Regions from separate parts of the Homo sapiens genome. Here all the other regions are linked to region 3. Evidence: promoter capture Hi-C in human tissues and cell types (Jung and others, 2019). All regions are on one chromosome and are shown on one strand. Each heading gives the region's core, a stretch centred on a gene start or on the middle of the fragment in contact. The rest is flanking DNA. Distances are from core to core; before and after follow the strand shown.

Region 1 (4,415 bases), core at 1,606-4,105, 220 kb before region 3:
GCGGTTGACAGGCATGGACTGAGCTGCTGCTGGACCATTCTCCTTGGTGCTGAAGGAAGGCAAAGGAGAAGGGCAGAAAGAAATGAAAGAGCCTTGGCTTTCTAGCTAGAGCAACTTCATCAATGTGAAATAGTCACCTTAAGAACCAGTTAATACAGAAAAGCACTGTACTATAGAAACAGGAAGTACATTCGTGGCTGCCTAGATCCAGGGGTGTGGGAGTTGGGAAAGACAGAGGAGTGACTACTAGTGGGGTTTCTTTGAGGGGGAATAAAGAGGTTCTAAGATTAGATTGTAACAATGGTTGCACAACCCTGTGAATATAGTAAAAACGCTGAATCACTTACGTTAAATGGGTGAATGTTTTGCATGTCAACTACACGTAAATAAAGCTGTTTAAAAAAAAATACGTACGGTGGTCGTGCTTGGCCTCAGATATTTCCTGCAGTAAGAGAAAAGAAAAAGAAACACCATGAGGATCAGATCTTGCTGGGTTCTGTTGGCAAAGGCCTTTTATTCACCTGGTGAAATAAAAAACCGGATGTGAAACAGTGATCAAGTCACTGGCCCCCAAATAAAGCATAGAGGATGCTTGTGGAAAATGCAGTGGGTTTTTTGGAATATTTAGCAAGTCTATGTTGGCTGGCAAATACAAAATTATTTTTCAAGGAGAAAAGGTTGCTACTGAGAAATACACTCACTACCAAACAGTTTGTAAGTGATGCCGTCCTTTGACGGCCATCGTCAATCAGGCCTCAGTTGGTCATAACCTCCAGTGACCGGTCGCTAGAGTCCATGACACTGAGGCCTGAATCATGATGGCAGTCAAAAATGATATTCATTTGATATTCTAGAAGCCTCAGAAAAAACAAAAAGCATTTCTCTTCCAGAGAAAGAAATACATCTTACAATATCTGACGTTATATTCTCCTCCACACCGCCGTGTGCAGACACCTGCACATCTTCAGTGGGACCTAGGAGAACACAGAGTGACAGTCAGTGCATTGGTGCTGCTGAGGAATCCCACAAGGAGCCCTGGGGGATGTGGACCGGGGCTGGAGTGTGTGGAGGTGGGCGGTTGACAGGCATGGACTGAGCTGCTGCTGGACCATTCTCCTTGGTGCTGAAGGAAGGCAAAGGAGAAGGGTAGAAAGAAATGAAAGAGCCTTGGCTTTCCAGCTAGGGCAACCTCATGAATGTGAAATAGTCACCCTAAGAACCGGTTAACACAGAAAGGCGCTGTACTATAGAAACAGGAAGTACATTCGTGGCTGCCTAGATCCAGGGGTGTGGGAGTTGGGAAAGACAGAGGAGTGACTACTAGTGGGGTTTCTTTGAGGGGGAATAAAGAGGTTCTAAGATTAGATTGTAAAATGGTTGCACAACCCTGTGAATATAGTAAAAACGCTGAATCACTTACGTTAAATGAGTGAATTGTTTTGCATGTCAACTACATGTAAATAAAGCTGTTTAAAAAAAAAATACGTACGGTGGTCGTGCTTGGCCTCAGGTATTTCCTGCAATAAGAGAAAAGAAAAAGAAACACCATGAGGATCAGATCATGCTGGGTTCTGTTGGCAAAGGCCTTTTATTCACTTGGTGAAATAAAAAACCGGATGTGAAACAGTGATCAAGTCACTGGCCCCCAAATAAAGCATAGAGGATGCTTGTGGAAAATGCAGTGGGTTTTTTGGAATATTTAGCAAGTCTATGTTGGCTGGCAAATACAAAATTATTTTTCAAGGAGAAAAGGTTGCTACTGAGAAATACACTCACTACCAAACAGTTTGTAAGTGATGCCGTCCTTTGACGGCCATCGTCAATCAGGCCTCAGTTGGTCATAACCTCCAGTGACCGGTCTCTAGAGTCCATGACACTGAGGCCTGAATCATGATGGCAGTCAAAAATGATACTCACTTGATATTCTAGAAGCCCCAGAAAAAACAAAAAGCATTTCTCTTCCAGAGAAAGAAATACATCTTACAATATCTGATGTCATATTCTCCTCCACACCGCCGTGTGCAGACGCCTGCACATCTTCAGTGGGACCTAGGAGAACACAGAGTGACAGTCAGTGCATTGGTGCTGCTGAGGAATCCCACAAGGAGCCCTGGGGGATGTGGACCGGGGCTGGAGTATGTGGAGGTGGGCGGTTGACAGGCATGGACTGAGCTGCTGCTGGACCATTCTCCTTGGTGTTGAGGGAAGGCAAAGGAGAGGGGCAGAAAGAAATGAAAGAGCCTTGGCTTTCCAGCTAGGGCAACCTCATCAATGTCACCTTAAGAACAGTTTAATACAGAAAGGCACTGTATGGTTCAGCGACAGCATCTCATCACACCTCCTCCCCATTTGAAGGTCCAGGCAAATCCCCAATTTTATGAAATGTTACAAGATCATTTAACTTCTGTGGATCTACATATCCTGCCACTACATTGATCATCTACCCTGTTGTGTTCTTCAAATTGTAGTGAAGCATACATATTTATCATTTTAATTATTAAGTGTGCATTTTAATGAGATTACATTCAATGAGTTACATTCAGGGTGCTGTGTCAATAATGAGAAATATCTAAATTCATAATCTAAGCTTCAACTTGGGCAATGAGAGAAAGACAGCAGTGTAATATAGAACAGAGGAAAAATAAATAATGATTGCAGAATACAATGGAATAGAAAACAGGAAATCCTCAGAGAAAATCAACAAAACCAAAAACCAGTTCTTTGAAAAGATCAGTAATGTTGATAAACCTCTACCTTGGCTACCCACAAAGGAAAGAAAGAAGTCACAGTGTACTAATAATATCTGTTTAAGAAGAGTCAAATCAAAAAATAGTAAATAATAAAGGAATATCCTGAACACATCTGTGCTCACAATTGGATACAGTAGATGAAATGAGCTAACTGTTAAAATCTATTTTAGAAGACCAAAACTCAGGAGAAATAGATCATCTGAATAGGCCTATATTTATTTTAGAAATTGAATCAATGATTAATATCTTTTCAAAAAACTAAAACACTATATTCAGATGATTTCACTGGTAAATTCTACCGAAATTCTTACAAAGAAAAATGTAGTCTTACCATACAAGCAAGTAATCATAATCCTAAGTATTTCCTCAGTTACATTTTAAAAATTGTGTTTCCAAACAAGACACAGGAAGGTTTATAATAGCTGTATTCATAATTGACCAAACTGAAAGCAAATGTCTAAACATTTGAGATGTCCTTTACTATCAAAGTTGAACTAAGCCTGGGCAACATGGTGAAATCCCATCTCTACAAAAAAAAAAAAAAAAATTAGCTTGGTATAGTGGCACGTGCCTTATGGCCAGCTACTTGGGAGGCTGAGGTGGAAGGATCCCCTGAACCTGGGGAGGTCAAGATCGCAGTGAGCTGTGATTGCACCAATGCACTCCTGGGCGACAAATGAGACCTTTTCACACACACACACACACACACACACAAAAGAACAACTCTAACTTGTCAATATTACTTTACTTGTGTAGTTGTATCATCTACCATTGATTTAATGCATTTAAATTGGCACAAATGAAATAAATGAAGAACATGACATAGCATTTACTGAGTTTCTCTAATATGGAGCACTGAATGAATAAACTGGAATTGTTTGCTTAAATGAACTTAATGATTTAATTTCCACATTACCTATATTTTCTAGAGGCCAAATCCCGTGCCGTCTCCATATTATTTTTAACCAGCGCTTGGAGCGGGCGTCCAAACCTGCAAGGTAGAGCAGACTTCTTATAGATTCTAGGAAATGTATTATAATAAAGACAGTGCTTGACATGTTGCTGGCAGAGGATAGCAGAGAAATTAGTAAAAACTTATTCACAGATGAAAGTTTTGATCCCGGTTTGCACCGTCTGCTTTTCAACTCTACCTGAATTAGATTTGGGTTCTTGGAAGATTTTGCAAGGTTCGTTGCATTTAAAACAGACTGTTTGTGCAGGCAGATACCTTTATTTAGATGAGACAATATAGAAAAGCAGCAGATCCAAGTCACCAAGAATGGCCTGGGTTCAAATCCTACTTAGAATCTGCACATACCTGGGAGAGTGAAATGAACCCCTCTGTGCCTCAGTTCCCTATTCTGAGATGTGGGAATGTTAGTAGATCTCTGCTATAGACCTACTAAGATCTATAGGGCTAAAAAGGATGAGATACAGATAAAGGCTTAAGAAGACTCATGCTTTGTAAATGCCCAACAGTGTTCAATCATTCAATGTCTGGGAGAATAATCCAGATACTTGGTAGTGGTTGAATACAGAGAGGGAGCGTGTATGGCTCCCGGGCAGGGGAGGGTGGAAGGTGACTTCACTGTTTCCATGGGCATGATGCTTTCCAGCTCATGAAAAAGATCTGTCATTTCCTTGATCCCCACATTAGCCCTGAGG
Region 2 (4,173 bases), core at 734-3,233, 140 kb before region 3:
GGACCCAAAAAAGAGAACGATGGAAAAGTACAGATAGTGCACTCCACAGATAATCTTGGGACAGTTACTGGGAGCCAAGCAACTCCCTGTTCCATAAGCAAACTCTGTTATCATACGAATGAGGCCCATTGCAAGTCCAACCATTAGACCCCAGAATGCTCCCTGCAAAAGAAGCAAGAAGAAAATCAGAATGTTTAGAAAATATGAGAAGCTTATTCAAGTAAGTCATCATTATAATCCTGCCTGCTTTCTCAGTTAAGGACCAACAAATGGCTAACCTTGGGCACAAGGTTACCGACATAGAGAAAATTGCAAATACATGTGCTTCTTAGTTGGATGCTGCTTTCCATGATCCTGAACTGTACATACCACTGCACCATCGTTGATTCTCCAATACCAGGACACTACTGTCTACACTGACCCAAGCTGAAGTTTTCCTTGACTTTTGTTTCATAGTTAGATCAAAACACTTGTGATTTATTTGATAAAATAAGCAGAAGTATCAATTATGTTACACAATTTCCAGAGCTGATATTAGGTAGTTTTGAGAGTTCTATGAAGCTCTTGATAATTTATTTCTGTGAGGAGTTGATGGGGGTGGAAACATGTGTCTGTTCCTCTGCTCAAGATGTTATGTTTTAGAAAAACTGTATTGCATGGAGATTAATGGTATGAGCTTTGGATGGAAGAAGATCTAAGCCTGAATACCAAGATCCCACTTACTAATATTAAGTAACATGTGGAAAGCACATAGATACTAACCCCTCTGCACCTGTTCCTCATCTGAAAATCATAATAGTAAGGCTAGTACTAAGGAATGATTGAAAGATTAAGGGTACATGATCCACAATAATCAATTAATTACATATATCACAATAGTAATGAACACAATTTGAATTCTTAGCAGTGTGGTAGGTTTTCTTCTAAGAATTTCACATATTTTATCTCACTTAATACTCACCACAATCCCATAGAATAGGTGCTATCATTATCTTCATTTTACAGAGACTCAAGCAATTTGCTTAGGATCACAATACGATTAGGTGGTATAGCCATGATTGGGCCCTGGCAGTCTGCCTCCCAAACATGTTCCTCAACTCTGCACCATGTATGTACGTAATATTTTGTAAGAAACATATAAAGACTGTACTATGAATGTGCGCTATATTTTTATACTTTAGCAAGGATCAGGAATTGTGGCTGACCTCAACTAAAATTAAGATGGGCCATGATTTGCATAAATAGGGGAGAAAGAATGTATTTTGATACCCCAGTGAAATAAACGATTTTTTTCTCACTCCAGCAGGGAAACTTTTTTTCCAGTTTTCACTCACCTGTTCATTGACTCTTTTACAGAAGATGGCAAGCACAAAGACAGCTGCAATTGGAGGCCCAAGGTAGCTAGAAATTGATTCTGTGTAATGGATTAGTTGTCCATTTTGAGAAACTTGTACCAGTGGGACCCACACAATGCTCACAACAGTTAATAGAAGAACAAATATCCTGAGAAGAAAACAACATAATTTAAACATTAAACAAAAGCACTATAGTTACTTCCATTGTGCTTTAGTTCTAGCGTTCATTCTTGTTGTCACTCATTGATTTTCCAAACAAAATCAAGCTCCTTGATCATACATAAACCCATGCTGTGCTTAATGGTGATCTTTTAGTAAAGTGCCAATAAAGCAATTGCTTGTCTATAATTAATCATAATAGCTTCATCTATGAGATTAAATATCTATTCATAAAAATAGTTAAAATATCAGTGATTAATAACTCCAATACACTACATGTAGTATATCAATTGGAAATAAATACCACACTACTTCTATTAACCAGCAATTATTTGTATGATAAAGAAAGCAGACTTCCATTTTTTGTTCTTTTGCTAGCTTGCAGGGAACAAAGTTGGTTTGCATAGGTTAGAATGGAAACAGCCTCTATCTCAGAATGCTGGGTAAATCAGCAAGAAATGCTAACTTGTGCATTTTACTACTTGAGTACTTCAGCAGGTAAAAAGCGTGTTAAAGGCTCCTGTTGTCCAGGGAGCATGACTTCTTAACCTTTCTAAACTGCAGCATTGTCTGTGCTTGTTCTGTGAGTAAATGAACCGACGCAATTTACTGCAGTGTGCGTAAAAGGCCATTCATCTCTCTCTGCTCACATGAAACAGAGAAGCAGTTGTGGGGTGGAGGAAGGAACAAGCATTTGGGCAGGAGACTGAAGCACAAATGTCTCATTTAAATGTTACAAAATCACTGCATCCTTGCAACAACTAAATGTGATAAACTATGGGAAGTCTTAGCATAATGCCTAAACCACAGTAAGGATTCAATAAATTACACTTACTGTTGGTATTTTTTTTTAATTACCATTGGAAGACAAATCATGTGCTTTCCCAACTCATTCAGTTCCAGTTTCCTATCACATGTAGAATAAAATCCCGTCTTGTTATGACTTCAATGGCCCTGGATGACCTCGCCTCCAGGCACCTTTCTGACCTTGCTCTTCACTCTCCCACTGGCTTCTCATGGATGAACCTCACTCCTGCTTGTTCTCAAACATATCACATATGTGACTGTGGGAGGAAAGCAACCCTCGTTTTTCCTTCCCCCAGAGCACCATGGGGCTCACTCCCACACTTCCTGCATTGCAGGCTCTGCTCAGATGCCACCTCCTCAGAGAGGACTCCCTGAGCACCTGGATGAGGTTACTTCCATCCTTTCTTCCTGCTTTGTCTTTCTAGCACCTCTGGTCACCTGAGGTAGCATACCTTTATTAATTGTCTATCTTCCTGACAAAGGCATATATTCCACAAGGCAAGAATTTTAAAAACGTACATGTTTTTTTCCTATTTGTGTTTTGTGAGATAGTAGACATTTGATAACAGAGAGAGGGGAAAAGAAAAAGTTATTACTTTATCATTGAGACTTAAGGAGGATGTGTGTCCAAGATCATATACCTATCAGTGGGACGACTGCATCTTGGGTCTCCTGAACACCAACCAGTACCTTCTCTACTAAAGGTACACTCCTGCCCTACTGTACTCCCTCTCCTACAGCATTTGTCCAGAGTCAAGCTCTGGGCCAAGTGAGGCCTTTGGGTTTTGCCCCAAGTGTTTTAATTTACTAAAGCTATTGTTACTGTCACCAACAAAGTACAGTCTTTTAAATAGTTGGTCAGTTTCTCTTGATACCAATTTCTTTGAAAAGAGTAGACAAATTCTGATATCTTACTACAGTGGAACATCACAGAGAAAGAAATTACACTACAGCTACACATAGCAACACGGTTGAATGTTGCAAACATAACATGAGCAAAAGAAGCCATATTTCGGCAGGTGGGGATGGCTCACACCTGTAATCCCAAGACTTTGGGAGGCTGAGGTGGGCGGATCACGAGGTCAAGAGATCAAGACCATCTGGCCAACATGGTGAAACCCCGTCTCTACTAAAAATACAAAAATTAGCTGGGCATGGTCGTGCACGCCTCTAGTCCCAGCTACTCGGGAGGCTGAGGCAGGAGAATCGCTTGAACTCGGGAGGCTGAGGCAGGAGAATCGCTTGAACTCGGGAGGCAGAGGTTGCAGTGAGCCAAGATCGAGCCACTGCACTCCAGCCTGGGCGACAGCAAGACTCTGTCTTGAAAAAAAAATTGTATTTCAAGGGATACAAATTCAATTATTCTACTTATGATAGCCTGAAGTTGGAAAAGACTAAGCTATAGCATCACAAGTCACAGTGGTTAGCTTTGGAACGAGGTGGCCCAAGACGAACGAACTTCTGGGTGCTGGTAATTTCCATGTCTTGACTTGATCGATGGTTACATGGGTCCTCACTTGGTGACACATCTCTGAGCTGTGCATCCATGTTTTAACTGTTTTCTTTATGTGTGCTGTACTTTGATTTTTAAAACATTTTACAAAATGCTATGACAGGCCAGGCCGGCGGTGGCTCACACCTGTAGTCCCAGCACTTTGGGAGGCCGAGGAGAATGGATCACCCAAGGTCAGGAGTTTGAGACCAGCCCGGCCAACGATGTGAATCCCTATCTCTACTAAAAATACAAAAAATTATCTGGGCATGGTGGCGGGCACCTGTAATCCCAGTTACTCAGGAGGCTGAGGCAGGAGAATCGCTTGAACCCGGGAGGCGGCGGTTCCAGTGAACTGGG
Region 3 (4,091 bases), core at 1,339-3,838:
ATCCTCTTCTATGGACCAAGGAAGGCAGAGAGACGGGCAGAAAGGAAATGAGAAATAGAGCCTTTGTCTTTCCAGGTAATAGCAGATGAAAGCGACACGAAATACTCAAACTTCAAATGAGCAACTACTAAAATGCATGCTAGAATTCAACCACAGAGTCCTGTCACTCCCTCAGCCCATTTTAAAGTCCAGCAGAACTGCCACTGACTCCTTGATATTGACCAACTCCCTTTCAACCTCCACAGACCCCCATCTGCTGCTGTAACATTTAACATCTGGGGTATAGGATTCAGCCCCTGTTTATGTGTAAATTTTTATTGAGGAACTAAATTCAATATCAGGTACCAGGGCTAATTATATTTACTCAATTCTTTGTTATAAATCAATTATTAAAAACTGGAAAATACTGAAATACATGTTAAAATATCCACTGTAAATCAAAGATCTTCCTTTTAGTCTTCCCTTCCTATCCCTTGTGTTTGCAATCATTGCATGAGGGGGCCTAGTTTCAGCCAGGTCTAGTTCACCTAGCCATATGAGGTCTAGTTTCAGCCCAAGCTACCCACAGTGAAGGAAGGCAGAGTGAGGAGATGACCCCATGTGAGCACCGAGGCTCTTTAACCCAGCTGTACAGGAGAGTTGCCACAAGGGTGACACCTGAGGCTAATTGTGAAGTGGTATCCTGTGTTCTGTGATTCTTGTGCCTTAGCCACCTGAGTAGCTGGAATTACAGGTGTGCACCACCACGCCCAGCTAATTTTGCATTTTTAGTAGAGATGGGGTTTCTCCATGTTGGTCAGGCTGGTCTTGAACTCCTGACCTCAGGTGATCTGCCTGCCTCGGCCTCCCAAAGTGCTGGGATTACAGGCATGAGCCACCGCGCCCAGCTGCCTTATTTATTCTTAACACATGTAAGTGCCTCTAACTTTCGATTGTTTCCAAGTCATGGAACGAACAACCTCCTTAGAAAGAACTCTGAAGGATAGGTCAGGAGAACTAAGTCACACAATCCATCAGAAACAGTATTAACAGTTTTTCAAAGTTACACTTTATATGCAAACTTGTACAATTATCATCTTATTATTTTTAAATGTATCTTTACATATATGTATGTGACCTACGTGTTTCCTGGTGTGAGTAAATCTGTATGTTCTTGGTTAATAGTGTTTACCGATTCATTTCACTTCTCTATCTTTGTATGTTGAAATATGAACTACTCTCTGGATGAGAAAAAATGATTACACTTGATTATATTTACCTTTGGAAAGGTAAGTGGTTTGGGTGATTGACTATAATTGTTATCTCTATCATTTTGGATAAACCCCAATCATAAAAATAAGTGTGTTTTGTTTCACACACTGACACATAGACAATACACATTCTTACTTCTTTTCAAAAAGTTAATATGTGAATATAAATGACATATTCCAAATTTACTAAACTGAATACACATTTCATGAAAAAGGAGAGAGGAAAGACATACTAAAAACAGGCCAGGGCCTGGTGTGGTGGCTCACGCCTGTAACACCACCACTTTGGGAGGCCGAGGCAGGTGGATCACCTGAGGTCAGGAGTTCAAGACCAGCCTGGCCAACATGGTAAAACCTTGTCTCTACAAAAATACAAAAATTAGCCGGGCATGATGGTGGGTGCCTGAAATCCCAGCTATTCGGGAGGCTGAGGCGAGAGAATCATTTGAACCCGGGAGGCGGAGGTTGTAGTGAGCCGAGATCGCACCGTTGCACTCCAGCCTGGGCGACAGAGTGAGACTCCATCTCAAAAACAAACAAACAAACAAAAAAACAACAACAAAAGACAAAGATGGACACACTTCGTTGTGTTAAAAGCCTCAAAGACATCTGCATCATTCTAGCTTTGCTCCTAATTTTTAAAATTAATGATTTTAATAGGTTCTTAATTAGGTAAAAACTGCATTAAAACATACTTTGCCATATTTTTCCCAGAAGGATACCTAATTGGGTGGTTTGAGGGGTGCCAGATGTAACAGGAAATAAGACATGTCTTTTAAATAAAGGAAAAGCTCAAAGGCATCCTGCTTGATACTAGAATCAAATATATAAATTGAGGAATAAAACATAACCGGGAAACACATTTATAACTGCATATGAAAAATACAGAGGAGAATTTTTTAATAAAATATATTTTTAAATATTAACTAGTACATTTGAGAGGACAGCATTCAACAGGCCAATGTGAACATACCTTTAATGCAGGAACTCAGGTTCCCCATAAGAAAGACCAGAATCTGTGAAAATGACAGCAAGCATGTTCAACCTGCTATGAACTTTGAAAAACTCAGCACAGACAGTGGCAGTTAGGACCGAGGGCAAGATATACCCAATCACATAACCATGGTGATAGGAGCATCATCAACGTCTCAGGGTAAAGTCACAATGTGTATTGTGAGGTCCGCTTTCTGCTGCACCAACAAGAGTGCTTTCACACGCACAGGAGGGTCATTAAAGATTAGGCCTTTTACGGCAGGGAGTGGTGGCTCACACCTGTAATCCCAGCACTTTGGGAGGCCGAGGTGGGTGGATCACGAGGTCAGGAGATAGAGACCATCCTGGCTAACATGGTGAAACCCCGTCTGTACTAAAAACACAAAAAATTAGCCGGGCGTGGTGGCGGGAGCCCCCAGCTACTCGGGAGGCTGACGCAGGAGAATGGCGTGAACCCGGGAGGCGGAGCTTGCAGTGAGCCGACATAGCGCCACTGCACTCCAGCCTGGGCGACAGAGCGAGACTCCGTAAAAAAATAAAATAAAATAAAATAAAATAAAAGATTAGGCGTTTTACTTAAAAAAAAAACAACAAAACCCAAGCTCATTAATTACTATTCTGTGCTTATTAAAATAAGTTTTAGGAGGAGAAATTGTGTACCCCAAAATACACTCAATGGCAAGAATTTCAAACTGAGCAGGGGCAAAACCGATATGTTAGTAACAACCAGAAGTTCCATTCTCGATTCGAAATTCCATTGCCAAATATTTCTACCATTCCTGAGTCATCTAATATTTCTAGAACCAATAAGCAAACTGTTCAGAATTAAAGACAGCATAAATGGATATTGTTATAAAAGTCATGTTTCTTAAAAAGTGACATTTTTTAAAGTCACATTTTAAAAGTCATATTTCCCTAAAAAGTCATATTTCTACCATTCCTGAGTGATCTAATGTTTCTAGAAGCAATAAACTGTTCAGAATTAGAAAAAAGTGTTACTTGATATTATAAAAATCATATTTCTCTCACAATATAATTATGAAACTTATTTTTCCACTTATCTCTATATATTACTATGCACTTATTTATCTCCCAAACTTTGTGAATTCACAGAGGAATTTGTCTACCATTGTGTATGTAAACGGCTGGCCATTCACTGAGTATTTAAAGGAAAAAAAAATCACTATATTTTCACCAGTGCATCTTCTCGGTGGGGTGAACACTTTGGGTGAATACATATAATTTTTTATTTGAGACAGGGTCTCACTCTGTCACTCAGGCTGGAGTGCAGTGGCTTGATCATGGCTCACTGCAGCCTTGACCTCCCAGGCTCAGGTGATCCTCCCAACTCAGCCTCCCATGTAGCTGGGACTACAGGTTCTTGCCGCCATGCTCAGCTAATATTTTGTAGAGATGGGGTTTTTCCATGGTGCCCAGGCTGGTCTTCAACTCTTGGATTCAAGCAATCCACCCACCTCGACCTCCCAAAGTATTGGGATTAGAGGCGTGAACCACCATGCCCAGCCTAATACATATAATTAAAGTGTTTCTGAATGCAGAATTTTAGATAACTTTCAAAATGTATAACTACGTGTGTATTCTGGCTGATACATAACACCCAATTGCAAATACTTTTATGATATGCCCAAGAAAACAAGCTGTTGAAAGTGACCTGCCCTAAAATAAATAGAACAAATGAAAATTTTAGGGTTAAGATGAGAGAGTTGCTATGTTTCAAAGAGAATAGGTACCCTTCATGATATAAATATTACAGTACAAATGTCTATCATTGCTAAGTACAAATTTCTAGAACAAATAAATAGGTCACAAATGATGTATACAATCTGC

The links. Contacts are between HindIII fragments. The study calls those that stand out against the background at their distance.
Region 1: a contact is called between a fragment that was not itself captured here and the fragment with the promoter of RFPL3S in region 3, in 5 of the 25 tissues and cell types used here (H1 embryonic stem cells, dorsolateral prefrontal cortex, lymphoblastoid cells and 2 more).
Region 2: a contact is called between a fragment that was not itself captured here and the fragment with the promoter of RFPL3S in region 3, in 4 of the 25 tissues and cell types used here (liver, neural progenitor cells, small bowel and 1 more).

What each region holds. Positions count from the first base shown.
Region 1 is chr22:32,150,578-32,154,992 of GRCh38, forward strand. It overlaps C22orf42 (chromosome 22 open reading frame 42), which reads right to left. Exons shown (of 9, transcript NM_001010859.3): 2 at 3,667-3,741; 3 at 1,985-2,049; 4 at 1,490-1,517; 5 at 910-974; 6 at 415-442. Among named protein-coding and RNA genes, the nearest start is that of C22orf42, 6.5 kb to the right of the region's middle. The HindIII fragment of the contact is 4,749 bases long and covers 482-4,415 here.
Region 2 is chr22:32,224,321-32,228,493 of GRCh38, forward strand. SLC5A4 (solute carrier family 5 member 4) reads right to left here. Exons shown (of 15, transcript NM_014227.3): 12 at 1,335-1,503; 13 at 1-162. The region is part of intron 2 of SLC5A4-AS1 (SLC5A4 antisense RNA 1); the gene reads left to right. Among named protein-coding and RNA genes, the nearest start is that of SLC5A4-AS1, 21 kb to the left of the region's middle. The HindIII fragment of the contact is 9,387 bases long and covers 1-4,173 here.
Region 3 is chr22:32,368,676-32,372,766 of GRCh38, forward strand. RFPL3S (RFPL3 antisense) reads right to left here and starts at 2,589. Exons shown (of 5, transcript NR_104232.1): 1 at 2,523-2,589; 2 at 2,224-2,266. The HindIII fragment of the contact is 22,540 bases long and covers 1-4,091 here.